Linked DNA regions of Homo sapiens: region 1 is linked to region 2. The links are contacts of gene promoters, found by promoter capture Hi-C in blood cells and fetal thymus (Javierre and others, 2016). All regions are on one chromosome and are shown on one strand. The core of a region is centred on a gene start or on the middle of the fragment in contact, and the rest is flanking DNA. Distances in the headings are between cores, read along the strand shown. Region 1 holds the start of DPP9 (dipeptidyl peptidase 9). Region 2 holds the start of UBXN6 (UBX domain protein 6).

Region 1 (5,906 bases), core at 2,879-5,378, 270 kb before region 2:
TTGACCTCCTGGGCTCAAGCAATCCTCCCACCTCAGCCTTCCAAGTAGCTGGAACTACAGGTGCGCACAACCACACCCAGCTAGTTTTTATATTTTTTGTAGAGATGGGGTTTTGCTATGTTGCCCTTGCTAGAATACAGTCTTTTTTTTTTTTTTTTTTTTTTTGAGACAGAGGTCTTGCTTGTTGCCCAGGCTGGAGTGCAGTGGCGAGATCTCAGCTCACTGCAAGCTCTGCCTCCTGCATTCAAGCTGTTCTCCTGCCTGAGCCTTCCGAGTAGCTAGGATTACAGGCGTGTGCCACCACCCCCGGCTAATTTTGTATTTTTAGTAGAGATGGGTTTTAGCCATGTTGGCCAGGCTGGTCTCGAACTCCTGACCTCAGTGATCCGCCCGCCTTGGCCTCCCAAAATGCTGGGATTACAGGCGTGAGCCACCTCGCCCGGCCTAGAATACATTCTTAATGTTGTGAGTTTTAATATATCTACTTTTAATGTTTCAATATGGTTTCAACAGCATTCTGAGAGAAATAACCATTAAAATACATAAAATCAGGACAGGGATAGTGGCTCAGCCTTGTAATCCTAGCACTTTGGGAACCCAAGTCGGGAGGATTACTCGAGCGCAGGAGTTTGAGACCAGCTTGGGAGAGATAGCGAGACCCCATCTCTACTAAAAATTTTTTTAAAAATTAGCCAGGCATAGTGGCACCCACCTGTGGTCCCATCTACACGGGAGGCTTGCGGTGGGAGGATCCCTTGATCCCAGGAGGTCGAGGCTGCAGTGAGCTGTGATTGCACCACCGCACTCCAGCCTGGGTGACAGTGAGACCCTGTCTCAAAAACACCCAAAAACCCCTCAAAACACATAAAAACAGGCACAGAGAGGTACACATTTTAGACTCCAATAGAATTTGGCAAATCTCTACGAAAACTTGCCTCAATGGAAACTTTTGACAATTTGTTCATGATGGAGTTATTTACCAGTAATTATTTTATTTTTATTTGTTTAAATTTATTTATTTATTTATTTATTTATTTATTTATTTATTTAGAGACAGAGTCTCACTGTCGCCCAGTCTGGAGTGCAGTGGCGCGATCTCCACTCAGTGCAAGCTCCGCCTCCCGGGTTCATGCCATTCTCCTGCCTCAGCCTCCCGAGTAGCTGGGACTACAGGCGCCTGCTACCACGCCCGGCTAATTTTTTGTATTTTTAGTAGAGACGGAGTTTCACCGTGTTAGCCAGGATGGTCTCGATCTCCTGATCTCGTGATCCGCCCGTGTTGGCCTCCCAAAGTGCTGGGATTACAGGCGTGAGCCACCGCTCCCGGCCAACCAATAATTAAATTTTCTTTCTTTTTTTTTTTTTTTTGAGAGGGAGTCTCGCTCTGTCGCCCAGTCTGGAGTGCAGTGGCGCGATCTCGGCTCACTGCAAGCTCCGCCTCCCGGGTTCACGCCATTCTCCTGCCTCAGCCTCTCGAGTAGCTGGGACTAATTTTTTTGTATTTTTAGTACAGACGGGGTTTCACCATGTTAGCCAGGATGGTCTCGATCTCCTGACCTCGTGATCCGCCCTCCTCAGCCTCCCAAAGTGCTGGGATTACAGGCGTGAGCCACTGCGCCCGGCTAATTTTTAAAAGAATATTATGGTGGGGTGCAGTGGCTCACGCCTGTAATCCCAGCACTTTGGGAGGCGGAGGCGGGCGTATCACTTGAGCTCGGAAGTTCAAGACCAGCCTGGCCAACATGGTGGAATCCCATCTCTACGAAAAATACAAAAATTAGCCTGGCATAGTGGCTCATGTTTGTAATCCCAGCTACTAGGGAGGCTGAGGCACGAGAATAGCTTGAACCTGGGAGGTGGAGGTTGCAGTAAGTCAAGATTGTGCCACTGTACTCCAGCGACAACAGAGAGAGAAAAAAAGATGTATTGAAATATTATTTATCTTGATTATTGAGTTTTTTGGCACCACCTTAATTTTTGCACCTGGTGCCAGTGCCTTACAATGCTTTAGTCTCCTCACCCTAATCCCAGCCCCGCAGGAGTGAGGGTGTGCAGAATTTTACAGCAGTCTGATTCTAAATTCTTGCCATCATCTTCCCACCTCTTCTACTGTCTCTTTAAGAAAATAAAGAGGCCTGGCGTGGTGGCACATGCCTGTAATCCCAGCACTCTGGGAGACTCAGGCGGGCGGATCTCTTGAGGTCAGGAGTTCGAGACCAGCCATGACCAATATGGCGAAACTCCATCTTTAGTAAAAATACAAAATATAGTCAGGCGTGGTGGCGGGTGCCTGTAATCCCCGCTACTTGGGAGGCTGAGGCAGGAGAATCGCTTGAATCCGGGAGGCGGAGGTTGTAGTGAGCTGAGATTGCGCTACTACATTCTAGCCTGGGCAACAGGAGCAAAACTCCATCGGAAGGTAAACACATACACACACAGTTTTTCTTTTCAGAAAGCTCTTTTACAGTGTAGTTGGGGTCGGGCGCGGTGGCTCATGCCTGTAATCCCAGTACTTTGGGAGGCTGCAGGCGGGCGAATCACGTTGAGGTCAGGAGCTGGAAAGCAGCCTGGGCAACATAGTGCAGGCCCTCTAGTCTCTACAAAAAATACAAAAGTTAGCTGGGAGTGGTTGCACACGCCTGTAGTCCCAGCTATAAGGCACCGTCTCTACAAACGCATTTTTTAAAATTCAGCCAGGCGTGGTGGTCCACACCTGTGGTCCAAGCTACCCAGGAGGCTGAGGTGGGAGGATCGCTTGAGCCCAGGAGGTGGAGGCTGCAGGGAGGGATGATCGTACCACTGCACTCGAGCCTAGGCGACAGAACGAGACTCTCTCTAAAAAATACAAAAAACAAAACACACAAAAAAGTAGTTTGATCTAAAGCAAAATGGTGAATATCTGCAGAAACTAATGTGATATCAAGTATAGATTGATATCTATGAGATGAAAAGCTTCATTTGACCCCGGATGGGTTTGTGGGCCGTTTGACGTGCATTGTTTTAATGGAAGGTGGATTTATGATAAAGTGATAAACATGTGTGTGGGTGGGTGGGTGTGTTGGAAAGGGTGTTTATTGGATTTCTTTTTGTCTTCCTTATTTTCCTTCTTTCGGTCTCTACTGTATCAAATACAATAACAGATATTCAGGAAGAGCGGATATTGCTTTAGCTGACTGTAGCCAGTGTTTCTTTGGTGGGACAACGCAACTATCACTGCAACATTATCTCTATAGGAGAATTTAAAGAACCCTGACGCCTACCGGTTTCCGTAGTGTAGCGGTTATCACATTCGCCTCACACGCGAAAGGTCCCCGGTTCGATCCCGGGCGGAAACAGGTCAGCTGTTTTTCCTAACCGGAGAGTAATACTATTTGAAATTCACCGAAAGAACGATTCTAGTCCCATTCTTTCTCTTCCGCCTTCCTCCTGCCTTTTAGACATTTTTATGGGATTTAAAAAAATTTTCCGTGATTGATGGCTCACGCCTGTAATCCCAGCACTTTGAAAGGCCGAAGAGGGCGGATCACCTGAAGTCAGAGTTCGAGACCAGCCTGGCCAAAATGGTGAACCGCCCCCCCCCCCCCACCCCGCCCCACCCCGCCCCACCCCACCCCATCTCTACTAAAAATACAAAAATTAGATGGGCGTGGTGGCGTGCGCTTGTAATCACAGCTACTTGGGAGGCTGAGGCAGGAGAATCGTTTGAACCTGGGAGGTGGTGGTTGCAGTGAGCGGAGATCACGCCACTGCACTCCAGCCTGGGGGACCGAGCGAGACTCCGTCTCAAAACTAAAATGAAAATTTCAAACTCGCAAAAGTGGTACCGCATGCGTTGGCCGGGAATCGAACCCGGGTCAACTGCTTGGAAGGCAGCTATGCTAACCACTATACCACCAACGCCCTGATAGGTAGCATCCTCTCCGGATATCCTTAATAGTGGGGGATCATGGGTTTGACTGAGTGATACCAAGTCACAGGGGGGTGTCTCTCCCTAACCCACCGGAAGATGTCGTTCATGGGGCGTTACGCACCTTAGGCCGCCGCGCCGCGGGCTCCCCCCCAAGCGCCGCGGACGCCTTGGTACGTGCCTGGTGGTGTCCAATCCCAGGCCGCCGCCTGGGTCGCTCAACTTCCGGGTCAAAGGTGCCTGAGCCGGCGGGTCCCCTGTGTCCGCCGCGGCTGTCGTCCCCCGCTCCCGCCACTTCCGGGGTCGCAGTCCCGGGCATGGAGCCGCGACCGTGAGGCGCCGCTGGACCCGGGACGACCTGCCCAGTCCGGCCGCCGCCCCACGTCCCGGTGAGCAGCGCCCGCGCGCCTCGTCCCGCCCCGGCCGCGACCCTGAACCCGCCATTGACCGGCCCCGCCTCGGCCCTGACCCTGCCCTCGCCATCGCCTGGCCTCCCCGCACCCCGGAGCCTCCATGCACCCGTCTGTGGGTCCCTCCGGCCCCCTGCCTCGTTTCCTCTCCGCCCCAGGCCCTCCTCCACCTTCTTTCCCTCCCCGATTCCTGCGCTGGCCAGGCCACCTCCCAGTTTCTCCCCTTCCCTGATGGGCTTCCCCACCCATCCCGTTGCTGCCCAGGCCACCAGGCTCTGACCCCTTCCGGAGGTGGCCGCACCCAAGAACGTCCTCGTAGCTGCAGACCTTGACACCCTCTCCCCTTTCGTGCAGGCTCTGGAGGTCCCGATCTCCTCCCTCTCCCCATGCAAATGCTGTATATGCACAGAGGCCACCTCCCTCGACCTGCATCCTGTCCTCACTCCTTTACCACTTCCTCCAACCTTCGCCCCGAGGCTTGGTCTCCCCAATCCAGTCCTGATCCTCAACCCTACTTGATCCCTCTATTAAGGGTATCCAGAGACTCTTTTTCCTGCCGAGGCGTTGGTGGTGTAGTGGTTAGCATAGCTGTCTTCCAAGGGTCCAGCCCACAGGGTTCAGCCCCCTTCTCTCAGCCTCCCTTCTCAGGCCTGTCCAACCGCCTACCTTCTTCCCACACAGCCTTAGGCCAGCCCTGACACTTCCCTGTTCACGCTGCCTCTGAGCCATCAAAAGTGGTCTATTCCCTTGGCCCCCACCCCCTGGTCTTCCCCAGGGGCCCCAGGAGGAAGTCACTTGCCTCCCAGGCAAGAACCAACCTGCTTTCGAGGAGCTGGGACTAAAGCCCAGGGGGTGTGGACCGTAGGCACCAATCCCTGCATTCCTCTGCTGGGTCCCAGGGGAATCGGGGCCCGTGGGATGGCTTCTCTCCCAGATTCTGTCCAGGGCATGCAGACAGTGCTGCAGGGCTTCAAGGCAGAGCTAGAATCTAGCCAGGTAGAATCGGGCCTGACAGTCTGCAGCTCCTGAGTGGGGGAGGCTGAACGGCTGGCCGGTGCTTCCATTAACCTGCCACATTCATGACATGTTTATCCTATAAAGGTCTGTGTCCCACGCCTGCAGCTGGAATGGAGGCTCTCTGGACCCTTTAGAAGGTCAGTTGTGCTGGGGTTTGGCAGCCAGGAAGGCTGGGGTGTGGGCTGGTGGGATTCCTTTGCCTGCTCTAGAATATAGACATGGGCAGGAAATGGTTTTCTATGGCCCTGGATGGTTGTCCTCCGCAGGGCAGTGGCTGCAGTTTTTTGTGCGCCTGCTGGAGGCTTTTCTTTCCACCCCTGTCCCCCTCTAGCTGCCCCTGGAAGGAGCTTTTTGAAGGCTTTGAGGAGAGGAAGGGGAGAGTGCTGATTTCAGCAGGATTTGGTGGAGGGGTGCCTGGATCCACCTACACTGCCTGACCCGGTCAGTAAATGGTGTGGATTCTGGCCCTGAAAGGACTTTAGTTTGAGTCTCCCCCTTCCTGTGGTTTTGAGTATCTTGTTTAGTTGACAATGCTAGCTGTCATTTAGTTTGTGCTACATCAGACACTGTGT
Region 2 (6,187 bases), core at 2,684-5,183:
GTAATCCCAGCACTTTGGGAGGCTGAAACAGGCGGATCACCTGAGGTCAGGAGTTCAAGACCAGCCTGACCAACATGGAGAAACCCTGTGTCTACTAAAAATACAAAAAAGTAGCCAGGCATGGTGGCGGGTGCCTGTAATCTCAACTACTCGGGAGGCTGAGGCAGGAGAATCCGAGAGATGGAGGTTGTGGTGAGCCGAGATCGCACCATTGCACTACAGCCTGGGCAACAAGAGCGAAATTCCTTCTCAAAAAAAAAAAAAAAAAAAAAATTAGCTGAGTGTGGTGGCACATGCCTGCAGTCCCAGCTTCTTGGGAAGCTGAGTGGGGAGGACTGCTTGAGCTCAGAAGTTCTAGGCTGCAGTGAGCCATGATTGTGCCACTGCACTCCAGCGTGGGGAAGAGAGTAAGACCCTGTCTAAAAAAAAAAAGAAAGCTGGGCATGGTGGCTCATGCCTGTAATCCCAGCACTTTGGGAGGCCGAGGCGGGCGGATCACGGGGTCAGGAGATCGAGACCATCTTGGCTAACACGGTGAAACCCCGTCTCTACTAAAAATACAAAAAATTAGCCGGGTGTGGTGGCGGGCGCCTGTAGTCCCAGCTAGTCGGGAGGCTGAGGCAGGAGAATGGTGTGAACCTGGGAGGTGGAGCTTGCAGTGAGCCAAGATTGTGCCACTGCACTGCAGCCTGGGCAACAGAGCGAGACTCCATCTCAAAAAAAAAAAAAAGAAAAGAAAAGAAAAGAAAAATAAATGTTGTCCTCCCAAAGTGCTGGAATTACTGGTGTGAGCCACCGACCGCTCCTGGCAGAAATGTTAAATTATTTAATCTCATAACCTCATCCGACATGAGGAAGATAGTCCAGGAGAGCGTCATGGTGGAAGAGGATTGAGTTAGGCAGAGGAAGAGAAGTCCCTTCTGGTAAAGGAGAATGCCTAGGCAAAGGCCCAGAGGTGAGCTGGAAATACTTCCAGGTAACTGAGGCAGAGGTGGAAAGGTGGGTGATAACAAGAAACGGGGTTTCTGAAACCCTCAGAATACTTAGAACCTGAAATAGAAATTTATTAGGGCCTATTAATGTTAGGATCTCCTTAGACCAGGCTGAGGAACCCCATAGGATTTTATTCTTGGAGAAGTGGGATGGGTCTCTGCCACTTTCCAGCTGTGTGACTTTGGCCCAGTGTTGTACCTTTATTTGAGTTATAGGGTATACAATTCCTTATTCACAACAATGAGCTGTAATTTTCTTTTCTTTTCTTTTTGAGACGGAGTCTTGCTCTGTTGCCAAGCTGGATTGCAGTGGCGCAGTCTCGGCTCACTGCAACCTCTGCTTCCCAAGTTCAGGTGATTCTCCTGCCTTAGCCTCCTGAGTAGCTGGGATTACAGGCATGAGCCACCGTGCCCGGCATACTGAGAACTTTCTAATCACATGATCACCCCTACAATCTATAGAGAGTGTTATTCTTATCCCCATTTCATAGATAGGAGACTGGAGATCAGAAAGATTGAAGTTTGGGTTGCACTGTATTCTTCTTTTATTTATTTATTTTTTTACTTTATTTATTTATTTTTGAGACAGAGTCTCGCTCTGTCGCCCAGGCTGGAGTGCAGTGGTGCAATCTCAGCTCACTGCAACCTCTGTCTCCTGCGTTCAAGTGATTCTGCTGCCTCAGCTTCTCAAGTAGCTGGGATTACTGGCACACACCACCACACCCGGCTGATTTTTGTATTTTTAATAGAGACGGGGTTTTGCTATGTTGGCCAGGTCGGTCTTGAACTTCTGACCTTAAGTGATCCACCCGCCTTGACCTCCCAAAGTGCTGGGATTACAGGTGTGAGCCACCGCACCTGGCCCAATTCTTTTCCTTTTTTTTTTTTTTTTGAAACGGAGTCTTGCTCTGTTGCCCAGGCTGGAGCACAGTGGCATGATCTCGGCTCACTGTAAGCTCTGCCTCCTGGGTTCACGCCATTCTCCTGCCTCAGCCTCCCAAGTAGCTGGGACTACAGGCGCCCGCCACCAAGGCTGGCTAATTTTTTTAAAAATTATTTTCAGTAAAGACAGGGTTTCACCGTATTAGCCGGGATGGTCTCAATCTCCTGACCTCGTGATCCACCCGCCTCGGCCTTCCAAAGGGCTGGGATTACAGGCATGAGCCACCGTGCCTGGCCTTTTTTTCTTTTTTTAATAAGACAGGGTCTGGCTCTGTTGCCCAGGCTGGAGTGCAGTGGCGTGATCCTAGCTTACTGCAGCCTCCAATTCCTGGGCTAAAGCAATCCTCCCACCTTGGCCTCCCAAAATGTTGGGACTGCAGGCCTGAGCCACCCGTCCAACCCATGATATTTCAATTTCAGTCTTGGGGTGGGCTGTTTCCTCACCTGGAGGCTTCTCCTCCATCAGTCTCTGTGTATCTCATTCCAACTCCTTCTTTTTTGAGGCAGAGTCTCCCTCTGTTGCCCAGGCTGAAGTGCAATGGCGAGATCTCGGCTCACTGCAACCTCCACCTGCCGGGTTCAAGCGATTCTCCTGCCTCAGCCTCCCGAGTAGCTGGGATTACCGGTGCCCATAGAGACAGGCTTTCACCATGTTGGCCAGGCTGGTCTCAAACTCCTGACCTCAAGTGATCCGCCGGCCTCGGCCTCCCAAAGTGCTGGGATTAGAGGCATGAGCCACCACGTCTGACCCCCAACTCCCATTTTTTGAGGCTTGTTTTAACTGTCACTTTGTGTATCTTCTTTGTGGATTGCACAGACCAAAGTACGCCACTATTAACTGGTGTCCACCAAAGTGGATCCCCAATCCCCAGGTCCCAATTGGGTGCATTGGGTGCATCCTCTTTTTTTTTTTTTTTTTTTTTTTTTGAGACGGAGTCTCGCTCTGTCGCCCAGGCTGGAGTGCAGTGGTGAGATCTCGGCTCACTGCAAGCTCCGCCTCGCGGGTTCACGCCATTCTCCTGCCTCAGCCTCCCGAGTAGCTGTGAGTACAGACGCCTGCCACCATGCCCGGCTAATTTTTTGTATTTTTAGTAGAGACGGGGTATCACCGTGTTAGCCAGGATGGTCTCGATCTCCTGACCTTGTGATCCGCCCGCTTCGGCCTCCCAAAGTGCTGGGATTACAGGCATGAGCCACCGCGCCCGGCCCAGGTGCATCCTCTTAAACAGCTCCTACCTAGGGTACGTGGTGATGGTGGCGGGGGGGTGCTTCAGGCACCAAAACAGGCCAGATCGTGGGGGCCTCCAATACCCAACATTGAATTGGGATTTTATCACGTAAGCTCTGGGGAGACAGAGAAGGTTGGAATTTTTTTTGTTTTGCTTGAGACAGGGTCTCTCTCTGTCGCCCAGGCTGGAATGCAGTGGCTTGATCACAGCTCACTGCAGCCTCGACCTCTTGGGTTCAAGCGATCCTCCCGCCTCTGCCTCCCAAGTAGCTGAGAGGCGCGCGCCACCACCCTCGGCTAATTTATTTTATTTTATTTTTTTTTTTTTTATAGAGACGAGGTTTTGCCATGTTGCCAGGCTGGTCTCCAACTTCTGGGATCAAGCAATCCTTCCGCTTGAGCCTCCAAAGTGCTGTGATTGCAGGCGTGAGCCACCGCGCCTAGTTTAGGTTGAGCAGCGAAAGGGATAGGGCCCAGTGCTTTCTCTGCGAGGTTCAGTTGGCCTGTCCCTGTCCTATCACCGTTTGTCACCGTTTGGGGAGCGCCACGGAATGCCCTGTCTCCAATCGAGAGGTGCACTCGTCGCCCTGGCAACGGAGTCCGGAAGAACCACAGAGACGCGGCTCCAGCGTACAGAGCGGCCGCCCTGGGCCAGCAAGGCACCGAGCGCTAGAGAGGCACGTCTAGTCGATTGTCACGTGGCAGGCCAGGGGAAGGCGGGACTTCCGGCGGCGAGGTAAATTTTTTTTTTTTTTTTTTTTTTTTTTTTAATTTTCTTCCGGTGGCTGGTCTCCGGCGGCCCCGTCCCCGACTGGGCCCCGTGCCCCCCCGCCCCCGCGGCCCCCCGCCGCCGGGCCAGCCGCCACCATGAAGAAATTCTTTCAGGAGTTCAAGGCCGACATCAAGTTCAAGAGCGCGGGACCCGGTCAGAAGCTCAAAGAGTCCGTGGGGTGCGTGAGGAACGCAGGGGCTTGAGGCCCTGCGGGGCGGGGACGGCCGGGGAGAGAGATCTGGGGCCTTGGGCGGCTCGGGAGATCGGAGAGGATGAGGGGCTGGGAGCGGCACGCGAGGGTCAGGGGAGGGGGAGAGGCGCCGGGGGCGGACGAAGTCGGGCCGAGGGTGGGCGTCAGGGGGAGGGGAGAGAGATCTGGGGGCGGGGCAGGAGGGGGCGGGTATGACCCGGGGGCGCGGCGGGGGAGGCGAGGGGAGGGGAACTAGCGCAGGGGGCGGGGCGGGAGGGGAGGTCTCGGGGGCGGGGCCGCAGGAGGGTCCGATGCAGTGGCGGGGGATTAGGGCGACGGGGCTGTAGGCAGTTGGGGGTCAGTGGAACGACCTTTGGGGAAAAACGGGATCATGAGTCCTGAGCCGGGTGGTGAGGGAGAGCTCTGTCTGGGGACCCGGCTGGCCGAAGAGGCCGGGATGATTTGGGGCAATCTAGGTGACCATGGATGGGAGCTGAGCTTGGAGGAGGACGCACAGCTGTGGGGTGGGGTGGTGAAGAGTTGTTTTGAGGTATCCATGGGAAGAGGGGTTCTGGATTTGGTATCTGGAGCACGTGGGAGGCTGATGGGAGACTAGAAAGAGTCTGGAAGGCCAGGGAGGCCGGGGTGGGCAGCGTCGTCAGTGACCTGGGATGTCCTGGCGAATTGAGAGGGAGGGGCTGAGGAAGGTGTGTGAGGAGAGTGGAGGTGAGGGATTCTGACAGATGGACTCTTACCCGGGAGGGGCCTGAGAGGAGAAGACGGGTGAGACAGACGCGTCTTAGCAGGCTGGGAGAAAGAGCTTCTCTGCGAGGCTTCTCTGCCACGTCACTGTGCCAAGTGGATTATGGAAGTGGGAGAGGAGGGGAAAGGAGATAGATGCCGGGCAGGCTTCCGGATTGTCTAGGGAGGACTTGGAGAGAAGGGCCTGAGCAGGGCTGAGCCAGCTGGGAGGGCCGGGGAAGAAGTGGAGCTAGGGAAGGTGCAAGGCTGAGGGCTGTTGGGTTGAGAAAAGGGAAACTGGAGAGCTGGGGCCGCTGCAGGGAGCTGGCTGGCCAGAGGGTGGTGGGGACTGATGGAGAGGGACTGAGGAAGTCAGCCAGGCAGCCAGGACACGGGTCTGTAAGCAATAGTGGAAGGGATTGTGAGGGAGTGGGGGCTGGGAGAGGCAGGGAGGTGGCAGGAAGTGGGGGTCAGGAATCACGGGGCAGTGGGGTGGTGATGGAGGTAGGGGCATAGTGAGGACGTCAGGGTTCCTGGGGGAGAGCAGGAGAGCAAAGGCTGAGTGAGGGAGGGAGAGGGGTCAGGGAGAGAAGGGGGCAAATCGGGGGAGCCCTTCATTGATTCAACCAATAGTGGGTGGGGGGTGCTGGGGCCACTGGGACTGGGCATGATAGGAAGGATGCAGGGTATCGGGGTGATGGCTGGATCAGCCCAGAGCCTGGGCGGAGAGGGGAAGGTTGGAGGGGAAGGTTGGGAAAGGAAGCGGTGCGGAGGTCCCTTGTGGAGCGAGACTGCATATCCAGGGTGTGTGGGGTGGGTGGGCACCAAGTCCTGTTTTAGGCTGCAGTGGTGGACAGGAGAAGGCCTCTGCTGTCCCAGGGCTCACCTTCTAGAGGGAGCCGATGGACAAATAAACCAACAGACCTTGGATGAGCGCTCAGGCGATGAGTGCTTGGATGAGTGCCCAGGGCCTCCAAGGAGGGTGAGCAGGGGCCGTCAGGTGGTTTGGGAAGGCCTCTCCCAGGACACAGTGAGACTCAGCTGTGGGGAAATCTGCCCCTCCTTCTCTCCCTGCGGCAGCTCTAGCCCTTTCCAGACCCCCATCCTCCTCCCACTCCCCCGGAGAACATTCTGGGCAGAAGGTGCAGACAGTGCAGGGGCCTGCAGTGGGGAGCAGCTGGGGTGTGGGAAGAACTGCGGGGAGCCCAGGGGAGACAGGCCACGGGAGGGCAGTGGGCCAGGCTGGGAAGGGCTCTCTGGCCAAGGGAAGCTTTAGGATTTTGCAGTGGGAGGGCGTTGTGCAGTGGAGTGATGCTGACGCT

Evidence for each region. The method cuts DNA at HindIII sites, captures the fragments that hold promoters and counts their contacts. A CHiCAGO score of 5 or more calls a contact.
Region 1: a contact is called between the fragment with the promoter of DPP9 here and the fragment with the promoter of UBXN6 in region 2, in 1 of 17 cell types (neutrophils). The highest score is 5.4, in neutrophils.

What each region holds. Positions count from the first base shown.
Region 1 is chr19:4,722,064-4,727,969 of GRCh38, reverse strand. DPP9 (dipeptidyl peptidase 9) reads left to right here and starts at 4,128. Exons shown (of 22, transcript NM_139159.5): 1 at 4,128-4,296; 2 at 5,419-5,471. TRG-TCC1-1 (tRNA-Gly (anticodon TCC) 1-1) reads right to left here and starts at 3,900; the gene lies at 3,829-3,900. It overlaps TRV-CAC3-1 (tRNA-Val (anticodon CAC) 3-1), which reads left to right and starts at 3,263; the gene lies at 3,263-3,335. It overlaps LOC105372250 (a long non-coding RNA gene), which reads right to left and starts at 5,090. Exons shown (of 3, transcript XR_936274.2): 1 at 4,984-5,090; 2 at 3,261-3,350; 3 at 2,383-2,835. RefSeq lists silencers at 3,208-3,407, 3,858-3,947, 4,178-4,327. The HindIII fragment of the contact is 17,947 bases long and covers 2,955-5,906 here.
Region 2 is chr19:4,455,540-4,461,726 of GRCh38, reverse strand. It overlaps UBXN6 (UBX domain protein 6), which reads left to right and starts at 3,933. Exons shown (of 11, transcript NM_025241.3): 1 at 3,933-4,112. The coding sequence starts at 4,030. RefSeq lists an enhancer at 3,672-3,871 and silencers at 3,982-4,031, 4,062-4,131. The HindIII fragment of the contact is 12,393 bases long and covers 1-6,137 here.